Regions from separate parts of the Homo sapiens genome. Here all the other regions are linked to region 3. Evidence: promoter capture Hi-C in 16 types of primary human blood cells and fetal thymus (Javierre and others, 2016). All regions are on one chromosome and are shown on one strand. The core of a region is centred on a gene start or on the middle of the fragment in contact, and the rest is flanking DNA. Distances in the headings are between cores, read along the strand shown. Region 1 overlaps TRA2B (transformer 2 beta homolog). Region 2 has its middle 7.1 kb from the start of RTP1. Region 3 holds the start of AHSG (alpha 2-HS glycoprotein). Region 4 has its middle 29 kb from the start of TRA2B. Region 5 has its middle 8.0 kb from the start of TRA2B. Region 6 overlaps ETV5 (ETS variant transcription factor 5).

Evidence for each region. The method cuts DNA at HindIII sites, captures the fragments that hold promoters and counts their contacts. A CHiCAGO score of 5 or more calls a contact.
Region 1: a contact is called between a fragment that was not itself captured here and the fragment with the promoter of AHSG in region 3, in 3 of 17 cell types (activated CD4 T cells, total CD4 T cells and naive CD4 T cells). The highest score is 7.0, in activated CD4 T cells.
Region 2: a fragment that was not itself captured here is called in contact with the fragment with the promoter of AHSG in region 3 in 2 of 17 cell types (total B cells and naive B cells); the score reaches 5.9 in total B cells.
Region 4: a fragment that was not itself captured here is called in contact with the fragment with the promoter of AHSG in region 3 in 6 of 17 cell types (naive CD8 T cells, activated CD4 T cells, total CD8 T cells and 3 more); the score reaches 9.4 in naive CD8 T cells.
Region 5: a contact is called between a fragment that was not itself captured here and the fragment with the promoter of AHSG in region 3, in 11 of 17 cell types (activated CD4 T cells, non-activated CD4 T cells, naive CD4 T cells and 8 more). The highest score is 13.3, in activated CD4 T cells.
Region 6: a contact is called between a fragment that was not itself captured here and the fragment with the promoter of AHSG in region 3, in 1 of 17 cell types (activated CD4 T cells). The highest score is 5.0, in activated CD4 T cells.

The regions. Positions count from the first base shown.
Region 1 is chr3:185,927,309-185,930,008 of GRCh38, reverse strand. The region is part of intron 1 of TRA2B (transformer 2 beta homolog); the gene reads left to right. Among named protein-coding and RNA genes, the nearest start is that of TRA2B, 9.4 kb to the left of the region's middle. The HindIII fragment of the contact is 1,185 bases long and covers 810-1,994 here.
Region 2 is chr3:187,189,048-187,191,750 of GRCh38, reverse strand. No RefSeq gene overlaps it. Among named protein-coding and RNA genes, the nearest start is that of RTP1, 7.1 kb to the left of the region's middle. The HindIII fragment of the contact is 2,953 bases long and covers 1-2,703 here.
Region 3 is chr3:186,611,638-186,614,596 of GRCh38, reverse strand. It overlaps AHSG (alpha 2-HS glycoprotein), which reads right to left and starts at 1,537. Exons shown (of 7, transcript NM_001622.4): 1 at 1,243-1,537. The coding sequence starts at 1,455. The HindIII fragment of the contact is 5,898 bases long and covers 1-2,722 here.
Region 4 is chr3:185,907,644-185,910,377 of GRCh38, reverse strand. No RefSeq gene overlaps it. Among named protein-coding and RNA genes, the nearest start is that of TRA2B, 29 kb to the left of the region's middle. The HindIII fragment of the contact is 3,858 bases long and covers 1-2,734 here.
Region 5 is chr3:185,944,517-185,947,410 of GRCh38, reverse strand. No RefSeq gene overlaps it. Among named protein-coding and RNA genes, the nearest start is that of TRA2B, 8.0 kb to the right of the region's middle. The HindIII fragment of the contact is 4,953 bases long and covers 1-2,894 here.
Region 6 is chr3:186,063,169-186,066,071 of GRCh38, reverse strand. It overlaps ETV5 (ETS variant transcription factor 5), which reads left to right. Exons shown (of 13, transcript NM_004454.3): 8 at 1-259; 9 at 1,596-1,655. Among named protein-coding and RNA genes, the nearest start is that of ETV5-AS1, 15 kb to the left of the region's middle. The HindIII fragment of the contact is 1,040 bases long and covers 741-1,780 here.

The sequences.
Region 1 (2,700 bases), core at 153-2,652, 680 kb after region 3:
AAGATGAGGAGGAGGCCGGCTTCTGTTCCTGAGAACAGGCAGTGTGTGAAAGACTGCCTTAATCAGAGGTCTGATTAATGCTAAGGGGAGTCAAAACAAGGAAGGGGATGACAGTGTTTCAGGAAGATAACCTTTGCCAAGGGAAAAAAATGAGTAGGAAGCATGTAACTTCTGAGGTTGACTAAGTCAAGTAAGTCAGACTTAACTAGTATGATAAACAGTGTTTTAAGAGATGCAGTGTTTATGAGCCACTATTTTAAATCTAACAAACCACATTCAGTTTTTAAAATAATACAGGGATTGGATGGTTAGTCCTTTCAAATATGTTTTTGTAAGGTGGTTGCTGTTCTCAGAATAGGGAGATGTGGATTATTTTGTTGGAAGGCTAAGTGTGTTGTATTTTTACTTGATGTATTCCCTTTAGGTTTTGTATTAGGATGTGGCTGAGATCCAGTCTGTGAGAGCTTGATTGATTTCCTGAGCATTTTTTCAGGGAAATTTTGGTTTTATTCATGCTAATTTTAGTTTCATGGTCCCTTTTTTTGAGGCAGTGGTGTCCAGTTCTGTCTGTTGGTGTGGTTTTAATGTGTTGACCATGTCAGCCCTGAGAGTGGAATTTGAAGTATGCTTAGATTTAGGGACTTCCCCAACTGGTTTTTATAGCTTTACCTGTCTGCATTGAGATTTAAAGTTAATTATGCTTTTGATTTGGGTGCTAATTTTAGGTCTTATTTCTTGTAGGCAAGTTTTATTCCCTTGCCATATGTATTTCCCAGCCAGTTAAATGGCCAAAATAACTTCAGAAAGCTTTAACTTCTTTAAGAAAATATCCCTGATAAAGGATCGAGACGTTTAGGTGTTACCCAAACAAGTGTCAGTATAGAAAAGGAAGCCTTTGCATTCTGGTATTTCCCTTATTCCTGGCCCAAGAAATGATTGCTTACAAAATATATCTGCATAGTCCGTTAGTTTTGGAGGCTGAGTGAAAACTCCTGTGATTTCAGAAATATTGTATCTGTGATCTGCTAGATTTTAAGGAGAAAACTTCATTAAGTCTTATTTTCTAGGTTAGGAGTACTGTCTCTTCCCTCAGTGGACAGGCTGCCGAAGCATCTTAGCTTAGAATAAAGGTTTTTCTGTTAAAGCCAGGAGCTTAAAGAGGATCTTGACTTGACCCATTCTTCCTTTATACTCAGATTCCTGGGCTGACTGATTTCTGTTAACTACAGTTACTTTATTGGTAGTCTTAACTGTTACTGTGAAACACCCATATTCTGCTTTCACTTCTGGAGAAAATTGTTTCATTTCCATAGAGGTAATCTTTCTAGTGTTGGAGTAAACAGGCTTTTAGCAACTTTTGGGTTCCCCATTTCTATATTCTCACCTATGTTAATTTTTGCCTGTGGTAAAAATAGCAAAAACTACACCCTCATTTTTGAGACTTCCTCCTTTGTCCATGGAGAGAAGGGAAGTGTCCGTTCAGAATACTTGATAGGGAATTCCAAGGGATTGTTGTTAATTGGAAGCCCCAGAGCATCACTACATCCTTTAACCATTTCTTGATGTTAAAGGCAGCTGTTCATATATTTTTCTTTTAATCTTTTTACAGTCAGTCATGGAGGGAGGTAGAGGGGAAAGGCTGTCACATTTCATGTCACCCCACCATGTTTTATAATGGCTTTGAAGTCATTTGAACGTTTCTAGAGTCGTCTGGGGCCTAGAGACCTGAACTCATTTTACTGGATGAGTTAGCCTTTCCTTCTGTGTTAAACCTCAAACCTTAATTTGTCTATTCTGTGTTACATTATAAATGTTTTCCCTGAGCATCAAAGGATCATCCAAATTTTCTCCATTATGTTGTAAACCACAAAACTATCTTCTAAAGTGTTTTGAGCTGTAATTTAGAATAATCCTCTACTGTCCTTTCAAGAATGTCCAGAATACTCTGAAGATGTATCACACAAGGAAATCTCTTGTGATTTTATCTGAAAGCTTCACCTTTGATTCATGCCATATAGTGACTTACTGTAATACTGCTTCCTTTTGAGTCTTGCCATTTCTGCTCTCTGGAGTAGAAAGGCTTACCAGGCTTTACTTTGTCTAAGTTTGATAACCTAAAATAAAGGTTGCCTTGATAATTTTACCTAGCTATCAGACTGACTAGGAGTAGGTTCTGTCCTTTCCTCATCTACTGTTTTGGTGCCTTGGCAGAACTTTTCCTTGGTTTCATTACTTAGTATACCCTTTTGTTGATTATGTGTCTTTAGCTCGTTGGTGACCTAGTTATCCTGGTTACCATTCCTTTGCTATTTTTCATTACAAATCCCCCCTTAACCTGCCAGCCAATCCCAGTTTTGGTTGGGAAAGCTATGAGTACACAATGTTTACCTAAACTTTGGCTTTTGTATGTAGTTTCTGTACTCTTTTGCTTCCTGGGCCCTAGGTTAGGAGCTCCTGATTTAGCTGCCTGGTTTTGATGTGTACTTAAGTAACTAGGTAAGTTAGGTTAATTCCTGGTTTTCCATAAGTTTGCCCTGGCTCATCTCCATTTAGCTGGAGAAGCTGTGGAGGATCTCTGACACCCTCTCTACTCTTATTTGTGTGTAGTTCGCTGTTCTGTTGTAGCTCCATCTGGTTGCTTTCAGTTTTTTAGGGGGCCTCCCACCATGGTTAGATGCAATAGGGTTTTACAGGGTTTAG
Region 2 (2,703 bases), core at 11-2,510, 580 kb before region 3:
CTTCAAAGAGCTTAGTGCCTTGAGAACACGATGTCCAATTCTATGATGTAGGTAGAGGTTGACATTATTTTGCAAAAAAAAAAAAAAAAAAAAGCAAACTAAGGATCAAAAAGGCAAAGTAGCCAAAGAGTAAACTAATCCAGCAAGTCCAATCCCAAAACATAGCCAGATAGGAACAGTAGGGCTGCTCCCTTTGGGTCAAAGCAAAGGAAAGCATTACAGGTACCCAGCCTGCCAGTACCACCCACCTCTGCATGCCCAGTCATGATTTATAAGAACCTCTTCCTTTGCTTCCCCTCCACCCCAACAGCAACCATTGAACTTCTTTTCCAAGCTCTTGCTCAATTTTGTGAGGCATATGTGCCTACCATCAGCGAGGGCCCTTCAGAGATATACAGCCCAAAATCCAAAGTCCCCCAGTCTTCATTCTCTTGAAGTTTTATCCCCATAAAACTCTGTGTTTTTTTTTTTCAGAGATGGGTTCTGTCTATGTTGCCCAAGTTACTCTTGAGCTCTCAGGCTCAAGCAATCCTCCTTTTCAGCCTCCTGAGTAGCTGGAATTATAGGCACACATCACTGTGCCCAGTCTATGTGTTTTGTTTTTTCTATGTTTGTTTTTTGAGACAGGGTCTCACTCTGTCACTCAGACTGGAGTGCAGTGGTTCAATCATGGTTCACTGCAGCCTCGATCTCCTGGGCTCAAGTGATCCACCCACATCAGCCTCCCAAATAACTGGAACTACAGGCATGCACCATCATGATCAGCTGATTTTTTAATTTTTTTTTTTTTTTTTTTTTTTTTTTTTTTTTTTTGTAGAGGTAGGGTCTCACTGTGTTGCCTCGGCTGGTCTCAAACTCCTGGGCTCACGTGATCTTCCCACCTCAGCCTCCCAAAGTTCTAAGACTACAGGCATGCACTACTGCCCAGTCTCTCTGCTTTTTTTTTTTTTTTCAAGTGCAAGATCTTGTCTTTGAGAAGAGCATTCATCAGAAAATGTTCTATGGATATTACCAAGGGAACAGTGCCATGGTCCAGGAAGTGAAGAAGGGCATACTTGAGAGAAATTATCAAGTCCTCAAAAACTAATTTCCCTATTTTCAGGATATTTGATCTAAAATAAAAGACAGCTTCCTTCCCCTTATTCTGAAGAAGGGGCAAGGCAACATTACATGTGGGGAAGCAACAATGTTATTCATTTATTTGTTTTTTAAAACACTCTGAATTATCAACTACCATGTGCCAGGCTCTATACTGGACACATGGGATATAGAGATAAATTAGTCTCACTCATTTCATGTCCAGTGAACATCAATAGCCAGGTGACCCACACTAACCCAGAGCCTTTGGCTTAGGACATGAAGACTGACCCTTAAGCATGTTCCTGTTGCCAAGCAGCCACTATTATGGGAACGTATCTTCAGACTGTACCCCCAAGAGATTCTTCCTGAAGCAGTTTTGGAAAGATATGCAACCGTTCAACCCTAATAACATTTCATGGAAGGTCTAGTAGGAAATGAAGTCACTGTACATTATCAGACCGTCTTACTGTGGTTGAATGGCATACTCATGGAGTTCAGAAGACAGGACACAACTTTCCTTTACTCTTCCATCAAATCTCCAATAGGTCCACTGAGAGTCCACCTAGAATGCATGTCCAGAACTTCCCCTTATTTTTTCTGGTCTCCTTTCTAGGTCTTCTCTTTGATCTCTTCTGCTCTTCTACTTTCTCTTCAGGACCTTGCTTCAACCTTCGGTGTAGAGTATCTATAAGCTAATAACCTTTCTCCCACTAATACTGACCACATTCCATTGCATAGCTGTCATTTCTTACTATGCTAACAAAGTTTATGTCCCTTTATTCTATTATATCAAAGACCTCTACTCACTAGGGTAAAAAGAAAGAAAGAAAGTGGAGGAAGGAGTAGAAAAAAATCCATTCTGATGCACACTTGCCCTCCTTCTGAGCATGATCTTTCCAAGAAAAGCAATAAAACAAGAAAACTTGGTCCTCTCTTTTGCAAATGAGAGGAAACCGCTCTGGACAGCAGATGTGTATTTCACAGTGGCCACAGAATAAACCTGAATCACATTTGCATTCAGTCACTTTGGCTGAGTCTCTACCATATGACCTGAAAATACAAAGATGTATAGAACAGAATTATGGAGTAAAAGGGATCTTGGAAATTATCTAGTCTAATCCTAATCAGATGTGCCAGTGACTCTGAGACATTTCATATGAAGACATAAATAGGTATAAAATAATCAGATTTTAATTTAGTGAGAAGATGGTTCTTCATATAGAATGAGGAGACTTCACTGTCTATCTTTAGACAGACCCAGTGATCTGGGATTAGGGTTGCCTCTGAAATTGAAGTAATAACCAATGCCTATTGAGAGCCAAGCAGTTACCTAGCCTGAATGTGAACATTTCCAGTGATGTGGAGCTCGTTATCCAGTGATAGCAGCACTCTCTAACCCCTGGCTATTAAGAAGCTCTTCTTTACTGAGTGCCACCATCTCACTTTCAAAACCTTGACTCTCTGTGCCTTGCAATAGAAAGCACTTAACAACGTGCCAGCCCACAGTAAGCAGGCAGTTAATATTGACTACTTTTGGGAAGTGAAAGGGGTGTTGTGGTTTTATTGTTACCACTATTAAAGCCTATGTTTATAAGTTGTGAAATTCTGCATTGGCAGAACACC
Region 3 (2,959 bases), core at 288-2,787:
TTTCCCCTGACTTGATCAGCGTTTCCTCCTAACCACCACTGTGCTTTAATATGGCTGCAGCACTCTTAAAATCCATCCGGAGCAATCCTGATTTCAAATATTTTGTCTCTTTGTGAGACGGATGGCAGTCGTCAGTCGGTCCAGGCTTCCTGTTGTTGACCTTATTTTCCAACCTAGATTGTAAGCTCTTGTGGGCACATATTGTGCCTTTTTCACCACTGTATTAGGTTGAACCATTAAAACGGCCAATATTTGGTTGCTTTTGATATAGAAAAATGGCAGTTTTATATGGTTCAACCTAATATCTCTGGTTCTTGTCCAAGGAAGGCTTGTAATACATATTTGCTGAAAGAATTGTCCTTAATCAGAAATAAATCTAATTTCAAAACAGGCAGTAGGCAGACAGCTTCTTTCCACCTCTCCAAATCTCTTGACTGATCCCCGAGGCATATTTCCAGCTTGATTTTTCTTGTCACTGGCTTCAAGCTGCGTTGGTTTCCTGTCTAGTGTGTGAGGAGGTGAATTGTGTTTATGCCAAGACTTCTCTCTGGGATGTGGGTAACTCTCTTTGGGAGGCAGTTTGTGTAGAAGAAGGAACACAGATATGGAATCAAATCCCAGCCTGAAGACTTAGTAATTATATGATTTTGGACCAAAAAAAAAAAGACAAAAACAAAAAACAAAAAAACTGCACACACACACACAACAGAGCCTTGGTCTCCTCTTGGGTAAGACAAGAACAATATATGTACCACACAGCACCAGGAGGCAGGACCGGGAAAGAGTAAATGAGATAATCTATGTGAATGGGCCTGGCATATAGTAGGCATCTGCCAGATGCTAGTTTTATTCATTCTCAGTCTTTGTTAGAGAGAAACCAAACCAAAGACAGATACGTGATTTTCAGCCAGTGGTAACTTGGCAACTAGGAGCTGGTCTCTTGGGTCCTAGTTTTTCCAGCAAGTTACACTTTCTGTCTGTGATCTGCACACTACCATTTGAAGCACTTTTTCTCCTGCACACCACCTCACACCCCACCCAGCTCCCTCCTGACACCCATGACTGCCATACAGAATGTCTCCTCTCCTGCCCTCTGCCTGCCCCTTCCCTCACTCCTGGGAAGAAATCAGAGAATTTACTCCTCTGTGGTTTCATTTGCACTGGGTGATGGTGATTTTTTGAGGCACCTGATTGAGCTCCATGTACACATTATTTCAGCTCATAGACAGCAGGTCCACTTACCTGAGGCCACACCTTTACTTCATCAATCTGGTTCAAGGTGTGTTTGTATCCCCAAGGAAGGTTTTGATTGATGTAGTCTATAGCCACCAGAGCTGCTTCCTCAGTTTCTGGATCATCGCAGTTCGGTTGTCTATAAATCAGCCCTGGGCCATGTGGGGCTGAGTGGCAGCCCCAGAGCTGAGCAAGACAAAGGAGCAGGACGAGGGACTTCATGGCTGCCCCAGAGAGGCCCTGGCAGGCGTGCAGGTGGTTGGAGGCTTCGGGACCAACCCAGGTGCTCTGCTGGGAAAGGTAGACCCATGGAGGGTGGTGGGCTTTATTTATCTGTTGGAGCCTGCCGGAAGAATTGCATAAGGATACAGGATGATTTCTGCTTTGGTTCAAAAGAAAAAAAAAAACACCCTGCAAACATCAGCCCTGGAAAAGCAAACAGGTTAGGACATCGCTGGTCCCCAAGAAATCTGCCAAAGTCCATGCTGCTGTGGGGGAGATGCTCCAAAGTCTGCTTGGAACATGGTAATAGCAGCAAAGAGAAGACAGCTGAGGGAATGAGGTGGACACAGTCAGCCTCAGAGTGCCATGGGTTTGGCAGCAGAGGAAATGTCTTCTACTGTGATCTGAGCATGCCATGGGGTCTGTGAGAGGGAAGGGAGGATACTCAGCAATTTGATAAAATTCTCCAATGTCAGGGGGAGTTAGCTTTCCAAGAGGAGTCCTACAGGGAGAACAAGGCCCACAGATATAGCAAAGGTACAGATGTGTATAGGAGATGCCAAGATTTTGGGGGAAGATTCTTGGAGAAAAGAAAAAGGATGAGAGATGTTTCTGCCTAAAGTGGGGAATGGAGGTGGAAGAAGGGGGTTCCCGTGGCAGGACCACGGTGGGAAATGACCAGCAAAACGTGTGGGGTTCCCTGCCCCTTCTCTTCCTTCTCCAGACCTCACTGCCAGGGCCCTGCATGTGACAGCACAGATGGGCACTGACCAGAGTCTCCTAGCACTAGTAACCTAGTGCCCCTGCCAGTGCACAAGGGCAGCAGAGGGGAGTCCTGACTCATTTGACACAGCTCTGGGTTCGAGTCTGACACCGCAGGCTGAGATGCTGCACGAGCAGCTACGGACACAAATACCCCTTGAACATTCTTTGCAGACTCAGCAGAATTACAGTGTGTCTTTCTGGCCAGAACAGAGGGCCAGTGTTGACTCCAGGCACTGCCTATTAAGTGACCCTTGACAATTCCAAGTGTGACATCCAAGGAGGGTTGGCAGGATAAAGAGAGGCTTGGGAAATATCACACAAGGACCTGGTTTGGTTTAGTCTGAAGCAAAGAAGCCCTCTCATGGAGACCAACATGGTCTTCAAATATTTAGAGGCCATCATTGTGTGTGGGTGAATTTGTTCTAATGTTTGATATTGCTTCAGAGAAAAAAAAACTGGTTAAAAAAAAAAGAAAGAAGAGGGGCCCCTCCAAAGGGAAGCTTAATATTGATTTTCTGGGGTGAGAATCGGGGTGAGGGAGGTGAAGTGAGTGGTGATGGGGCAGAGAAGGTAGTTGGCAGGACTGTTCTCACATTTACTCCCAGCTGCTCACACACCACACCGAATCTTAATGTCAGAAGCTCAGAAGGTGTGGCCAGGACTCCAGGTTCTCTCCAAGAGGGGGACCATGATTCTTCCAGATGAAAAACAAACTCTGGTCATCCAGCAAGATGATCCT
Region 4 (2,734 bases), core at 18-2,517, 700 kb after region 3:
GGGACTGTAAACTAGTTCAACCATTGTGGAAGAGTGTGGTAATTCCTCAAGGATCTAGAATTAGAAATACCATTTGACCCCGCCATCCCATTACTGTATATACCCAAAGGATTATAAATCATGCTGCTATAAAGACACATGTACATGTATGTTTATTGTAGTACTATTCACAACAGCAAAGACTTGGAACCAACCCAAATGTCCATCAATGATAGACTGGATTAAGAAAATGTGGCACATATACACCATGGAATACTATGCAGCCATAAAAACGGATGAGTTCATGTTCTCTGTAGGGACATGCATGAAGCTAGAAACCATCATTCTCAGCAAACTATTGCAAGGACAAAAAACCACCACACGTTCTCACTCATAGGTGGGAACTGAACAATGAGAACACTTGGACACAGGAAGGGGAACATCATACACCGGGGCCTGTCATGGGGTTGGGGGAGGGTGGAGGGGTAGCATTAGGAGATATACGTAATGTAAATGAGTTAATGGATGCAGTACACCAACATGGAACATATATACATATGTAACAAACCTGCACGTTGTGCACATGTACCCTAGAACTTAAATAAATAAAAAAAAAATACACTTGTCTAGAAGACAGGAGACTTCATTATATTACTCTCTTTACAATTAATTAATGTAAGACCGTTTAAAATATGCCTAATTTTCCAGGCATTGGTTTGCTTTTCTATAAAATGGGAGGATAGAAAATAACTTCCAAATTCTTACAAATCTAAGAATCTTTGGATTTAGATATGGAAATTCATAATTATTGAGATGGAGTCTCGTTACTATGCAATATAGCAAAGTTGGAAATAAATTCTAAATTTTATTTCATTTATATTGATCAATAAATTGTTACATTTCAAAAAAATGCAAGAGGCATTTGGAAAAAAGGACAAATAGGAATTTGTGAAAGACTATGGGAGTTAATGGGAAAGGAAGAGTTGCTGACTGCGAGCCTGGGCTCCTGGCCGCTCGCAGTGGCCCTGTTAAAAATGAGAAGAAAGAAAGAAGTTGGTTTGAGGGAGAAGATTTGCCCTTGACTTTACCTTTGTTGAGCTTTATAGAAGTTACTGGTGATAGCTGAAGCCTCTAATCCCAGTACTTTGGAAGGCTGAGGCAGGCGGATCACTTGAGGCCAGGAGTTCGAGACCAGCCTGGCCAACATGGTGAAACCCCATCTCTACTAAAGTACAAAAAAGAAACCTAGCAGGGCGTGGTGGTGCGTGCCTGTAGTCCCAGCTACTCGGGAGGCTGAGGCAGGAGAATCACTTGAACCTGGGAGGCGGGGTTTGCAGTGAGCCAGATCATGCCACTGCACCCCAGCCTGGGAGACAGAGCAAGATTCTGTCTCAAAAAAATAATAAATAAGTAAAAGTTAAACATAGAATTACCATACAACTCAGCAATTCTACTCCTGGGTTTATACCCAAAAAATCGTAAACATAGGTTCACACAAAAATTTGTACGTGGATGTTCATAGCAGCATTATTAGTGATAGCCGAAAAACAGAAACACCCCAAATGTTCCTTCAGCTGATGAATTGATTAATAAAATGTGATATATCCGGGCCGGGCGCGGTGGCTCACGCCCGTAATCACAGCACTTTAGGAGGATGAGACGGGCGGATCACAAGGCCAGGAGATCGAGACCATCCTGGCTAACATGGTGAAACCCCGTCTCTACTAAAAATACAGAAAATTAGCCGGGTGCGGTGGCGGGCGCCTGTAGTCCCAGCTACTCCAAAGGCTGAGGCAGGAGAATGGCGTGAACCTGGGAGGCAGAGCTTGCAGTGAGCCGAGATCGCGCCACTGCACTCCGGACTGGGCGACAGAGCGAGACTCCGTCTCAATAAATAAATAAATAAATAAATAAATAAATAAATAAAGTGATATATCTATACAATGGAATATTATTTGGCAATAAAAAGGAATGAAGTAATGATACATGCTGACATGAATGAACCTTCAAAACATTTTAAGTGAAAGGAACCAGTCACAAAAGACCATATATTACATGATTTAATATATATGAAATATGCAGAACAGAGAGTTCTATGCAGAGAAAGTAGACTAGTAGTTTCCTAGGCACGGCAATTTGCAGGAGGAAGGGGAAGTGACTGCTAATAGGTATGGCAGTCACTTTGGGCCTGAGGAAAAATATTCTAAAACTGATTGTAGTGATGGTCACTTAACTTTGTAAATATACTAAAAGCGATGGAATTTTGCACTTTAAGCAGACGGATTTCATCTTAATAAAGCTGTTAAGCACTTCCAGTCACCTAAAAACACTATTAAGAGAGTAGGGCCAGGAGTGGTGGCTGACACCTGTAATCCTAGCACTTTGGAAGGCTGAGGCAGGAGGATCCCTTGAGCCCAGTAGTTCGAGACCAGCCTGGGCAATATAAGGAAACTCTGTCTTTTAAAAGAAAGAAATAGGCTGGGCGTGGTGGCTCATGCCTGCAATCCCAGCACTTTGGGAGGCCGAGGTGGGCGGATCACTTGAGATCAGGAGTTCAAGACCACCCTGGCCAACATGGTGAAACCCTGTCTCTACTAAAAATACAAAAATTAGCCGGGTGTGGTGGTATACACCTGTAGTCCCAGCTACTCAGGAGGCTGAGGCAGCAGAATAACTTGAACCCAGCAAGCGGAGTTTGCAGTGAGCTGAGATCACGTCACTGCACTCCATCCTGGCAACAGAGCGAGACTCCATC
Region 5 (2,894 bases), core at 277-2,776, 670 kb after region 3:
CTTAATTCAAAATCAAACTCTTGTCCCTTTAGCCCTGCCCAAACTCCTTCTTCCTCAAGTTTCCCCATCTCAGTATGGGGCACCATAGACCCTCTTGAGTTCTTGACATCTCCATCCCCTTACCCTATTACAAGTCCACTCAATTCTGGACTCAAAATAGATCTACCACTGCCCTTTTTTCTCTATCTCCTTTGCTATTACTGTGTTGCAATGGTCTCTTACCTGGACAAATGCAATAGCTTCCTAACTGGTATCCTAGCTTTTACCTCCTTCCAACCCATTCTCCATCCAATGGGGAATGTAATCTTATAAAAATAAAAACTGAGTCAAGACATTCCCCCTAATTAAAACATTTCGATAGCTTCCCATTGCATTTATTTAATTATTTATTTATTTTTGAGGCAAAGTCTCACTCTATTGCCCAGGCTGGAGTGCAGTGGCACGATCTTGGCTAACTGCAACCTCTGCCTCCCGGGTTCAAGAGATTCTCCTGCCTCAGCTTTCCGAGTAGCTGGGGTTACAGGTGCCTGCCACCACGCCTGGCTAATTTTTGTATTTTTTTAATAGAGGCGGGGTTTCGCCATGTTGGCCAGGCTGGTCTCGAACTCCTGACTTCAAGTGACCCATCCACCTGCCTTGGCCTCCCAAAGTGCTGGAATTACAGGTGTGAACCACCGTGCCCAGCCCCCACTGCACTTAAATAACATCTGACATCCTTTCCATGACCTGCATAATCACTGCTGACTTATTATGAGTTAGACATTGTTCTAAGGGCTTTTTATGTAAAATAGTAATTCTTTGGATCCTGACAACAAGCATAGGAAGTAGGTATTATTATCATTCCTATTTCACAGATGAAGCCACAGAGGCACAGAGGTTACACTTGCCCAGGGTCTCTCAGAGAGCTACTGTGGAGGCAGGAAACAACCCCAGGAAGTCCAAGCCCTGCTCTCTGTACCACAGTCTCTGGTCCTCAGATGGACCCACTGGGATCCCATGGTTGGGTCTCTCTGTTCCTGGAACCCGACAAACATCCTCACCCCAGTGCCTTTGTGACCTTGCTAATCCCTTCCCAGGAACACAGTTTTCTCTGCTTTTTAAATGGCTGGCTTCTCACCCTCCAGGTCTCCATAAATAGGAATGGTATAATAGGTTATGGCACATATTTGCAACGGAATACCATACAACTGTTTTAAAATATGAGATAAATCTATGTGTACTGACGTGGAACAATATTTAGCATATTTTAGATTGCTAAGTGAAAAAGGCAAGTTACAGAATACCATGTTAAAATTTAAAAATATGAGCGGGGCATGGTGGCTCATGCCTGCAATCCCAGCACTTTGGGATGCTGAGGCGGGTGGGTCACCTGAAGTCAGGAGTTCGAGACAACAGCCTGAGCAACAGAGTGAGACTCTGTCTCAAAAAAATAATAAATAAAAATTAAAAAATAAAAAATATGTATAGCATGATTCCATTTGTTTATGAAAAGAAAATTTTAAGGCTGGGCTCAGTGGCTCATGCCTGTAATCCCAGCACTTTGGGAGGCCGAGGCGGGTGGATCGTGAGGTCAGGAGATCGAGACCATCCTGGCTAGCATGGTGAAACCCCATCTCTACCAAAAATACAAAAAATTAGCCGGGTGTGGTGGCAGGCACCTGTAGTCCCAGCTACTTGGGAGGCTGAGGCAGGAGAATGGCATGAACCCGGGAGGCGGAGCTTGCAGTGAGCCGAGATCTTGCCACTGCACTCCAGCCTGGGAGACAGCAAGACTCCGTCTCAAAATAAATAAATAAATAATAAAAAAATAAAAATAAAAATTTAAATTTATCTATCTAAGGTCTAGAAGGTTATGCACTACATTTTTTAACTAGGGTGACCTCTGAGGAGCGAGACTGGGAAAGAGAGGATAGAAAATAGGGTTTGCATTTTTCACTTTGCACATTTCTTATTGTTTGAATTTTTATCCCCACCCTATATTAGTAACATAATAATAATTCTAAGACAAAACATTTTCTTCATATGTTTAATGTTTGAGCTCTAAATTTTGTTATTTGGGTATTCTAATTTTTATTCTCTTCCTCTCTTTCCCAGATTTATCTTAAGTATCTGGAGAAAGTCTTTTATTTCATTCTTCTCTCTCTCTCTTTTTTTTTTTATTTTTTTGAGAAGGAGTCTTGCTTTGTCGCCCAGGCCGGACTGCAGTGGCGCTATCTCGGCTCACTGCAAGCTCCGCCTCCCGGGTTCATGCCATTCTCCTGCCTCAGCCTCCTGAGTAGCTGGGATTACAGGTGCCCGCCACGGCGCCCGGCTAATTTTTTGTATTTTTAGTAGAGACGGGGTTTCACCGAGTTAGCCAAGATGGTCTCGATCTCCTGACCTCATGATCCGCCCACCTCGGCCTCCCAAAGTGCTGGGATTACAGGTGTGAGCCACCGCACCCGGCCTCTCTCTCTTTTTTTTTTTTTTTTTTTTTTTTTTTGAGACAGAGTTTCACTCTTGTCACCCAGGCCGGAGTGTAATGGTACGATGTCTGCTCACTGCAACCTCTGCCTCCCAGGTTCAAGTGATTCTCATGCCTTGGCCTCCCGAGTAGCTGGGATTACAGGCATGCACCACCACGCCCGGCTAATTTTTGTATTTTTTAGTAAAGACAGTGTTTCACAATGTTAGCCAGACTGGTCTCGAACTCCTGACCTTAGGTGATCCACCTTTTTTAGGGTTCAGAACATTGAAAGTGATTGGTTGTTTCAACTCAATTATCTACAATACGTAGCCATAGTCAGCATAGTAACTCAATGTTGTTCTTAATTTCCACTCAGTCCTAAGCTGGTTCGTGAAGACCTGCCTTAATGAAGTCTCAAAGTTTTTGACTTCCACATTCATACTTCCAA
Region 6 (2,903 bases), core at 11-2,510, 550 kb after region 3:
TTTCAGAGACAACTGTCTGAACCCTGCCACCCCTTCCCTCCTCAGCCAGGAGTTCCTGGAGATAATCGCCCCAGTTACCATCGGCAAATGTCAGAACCTATTGTCCCTGCAGCTCCCCCGCCCCCTCAGGGATTCAAACAAGAATACCATGACCCACTCTATGAACATGGGGTCCCGGGCATGCCAGGGCCCCCAGCACACGGGTTCCAGTCACCAATGGGAATCAAGCAGGAGCCTCGGGATTACTGCGTCGATTCAGGTCAGCATCAAATTGTGCTATTCTTTGCTTCATTCTTGCATTCTTCTGTCTCGTTATTCAGTGTCTTATACATGCAGGGCCTTGGGGACAGGAATTTTTATAAGAATTTTTTATAATTTTTATAAGAATTGCCCTCAAATAACTTAGGAGCTAGTAGAGCTGACATGTTTATGCGCAATGGAATACAAAACAAAACAGAAAAGCTATGTAAGTGGTAGGAAGTGCGGTAGGCATTCAGAAGTGGTATGAAGTACATCTCTGAGTCCAAGCCTGGAGAGTGTTGGGGTTCAGTTTTGGATGGAATTTGCTCGACCTTCTCTGAGATAATACATAGATTGATCTATTCAGGCACCAGTTGGTTATGGGAAATGCTGAGGAAATAGGCAGAAGGGAGAGACCTGTTGCTTTATGACAGAAAAATTACCAAGTGTGAGGTAGTGATCGTGTGTAAACATTTCCATCAGCATTCCTCTGGAAAGCTTTGATGTATTTTTCTCAGGAGTAGCATGAACAGCAACATTTTTTCCTTTAAGACTGACATTTTGATCTGTCCTGATGGGTTTTGCACCCCACTCCACTCCCTTAAAGCAAGACACTCAACAGAGGTTACCATATCTGTAATTCTTTGATCTGAGTTGTATTGCCAGGGTGATGGCTCATCCCACATGGACACAACTCAAATTACTGTCTTTCGTCTCGATGGACACTGATAACATGATGGCTGAAGAAGAGATCACTTGAGTGTGGTTTGGTTTCAGTATGACAGCCCCAGCATGGCAAAAATGGACCAAACTGCAATCCTCTACCCCTTCCAATGCTGGTCCTGGCTTCCTAACTTCAGGTCCCCTAATCCCTTTGGCCTAAAAATACTCCCACCTGTTGGAGCAAAATTAGATGTGACCACCAGCAGTAAAGGGGAGCAAATTAGAAAAGATCTAAAGCAGTCCTCTTCCCGTTCCCACCCTAACACCCAGGAGTCAGCATGGGCAAGAGGCCAGGCTTGGCCTTTTGAAAGCCAGTATTTTTTCCCCTGCCATTGGCTCTTTCACCAGATTTAGTGTTAACACATTTCTAAAATAAGTGAACAATGAGAGTGAAACATCTTTTTTTTCCTCCCGTGACTCTTGATTAGGAGAGCCTGCCTTTCAGCTGGTGGGTTATGGTGTTTGCCATCTTGCTTATTGGTGTGGCACCTCTTTCCCAGGACAAAGCCAGAAAGACATGACCCCAGAGCAGGAAGTTTAGGGGCTTTACCACAGAGCTGCAGTTGACCGATGTGCTGTTTCTGCTGCAGAAACTATTGACAGGATTGTGTCCACCTTTGCTTTCCTTTCAGAAGTGCCTAACTGCCAGTCATCCTACATGAGAGGGGGTTATTTCTCCAGCAGCCATGAAGGTAAGGAACCTGCTTTTCTTTCCTCTTCTCTCCTCTCTCCTCTCCTTTCTTCCTTTCTTTCTCTCGGCTTTTCTTTCTCCTACCTTCCTTCCTTCCTCTTTCTTTGCTTGACTAATACCCAAGCTTAAAATTGCTCAGTTTCCAGGCTAAGATTTGAGATCATAGTTTAAACCTTGCTTAGCTCATGAATATGAGAGCTGATTGATTGTAATCTTCAATTATTTTGCACGCAGGGTTTCAAGCATGCCCCTAAGCCCTGTGAGGGCTGCCATTTTCATTAGCAATGACCCCAACTTTTTAACAGTATAGGACAATTTGGAGAAAAAACAAACCCACCTTATTTCCACATTTCCAGAAATGGAGGTTATGTTTATATAACACTATCAGCTGAAACTGGAATTTAGGAGTTATGTCAGTGAGGGTGGTTTTTATATGTTTTACAGTTATGTCAGTGAGGGTCCAAGGATGTCTTAGAGTTTTAAAAATGTGTCTCTAGGTTTTTTACTTAGTTTGAGTGCTTGGGTGGGTAACTCTTCATTGTAATTATTATTATATGATAAATGGTTGCCATTTTTAACATGGGAGGGAAATTGAAGGTATTCTTCACCAACCTTGAGGGGGCTGGTGGGGAAGTGAGCTAGCAGGGGGTAGGGAGTACTGGGGATGGGAGTGGAGAGGTATGTTATGTACAAAATGCATTATTGAAGGACACAAATGTTTTCTCATTGGATTTTTAAAAAATACCTCAAAGGAGAAACATGAGAACAGATATAAAGCAGTTTACCCACAAGCCTGGATTATCACATATCCTAACATTTATTTTTATGTGAAGATGATCGTTTTATATCAAGGGTGTATGCTGTCTGCTCAAGTTCTTGTGCCCTATCCCTTTGGGACCAACTTAATTCAGTAAGTCTCTGAGATCATCTCACTCTAATTAGGAGCAGGAGCAGTAGGCAAGGTTGAGCCTGTGACTTTGCCTTCATTAGTGCTGACCTACTAATTAGGGTGAAAGTAATTGGGAACAAATAAGATGCATAAGTGTTCCATAGCATATGGCTTCAAGGAAGTGGTCAGAATGGAGCTAGAATGTCAGTTTCTTGGAGGAGCTTGCTTTTTTTCATCTTTTTTTGTTGTTGTTGTTGTTGAGACGGAGTCTCGCTCTGTTGCCCAGGCTGGAGTGCAGTGGCATGATCTCCGCTCACTGCAAGCTCTGCCTCCCAGGTTCACGCCATTCTCCTGCCTCAG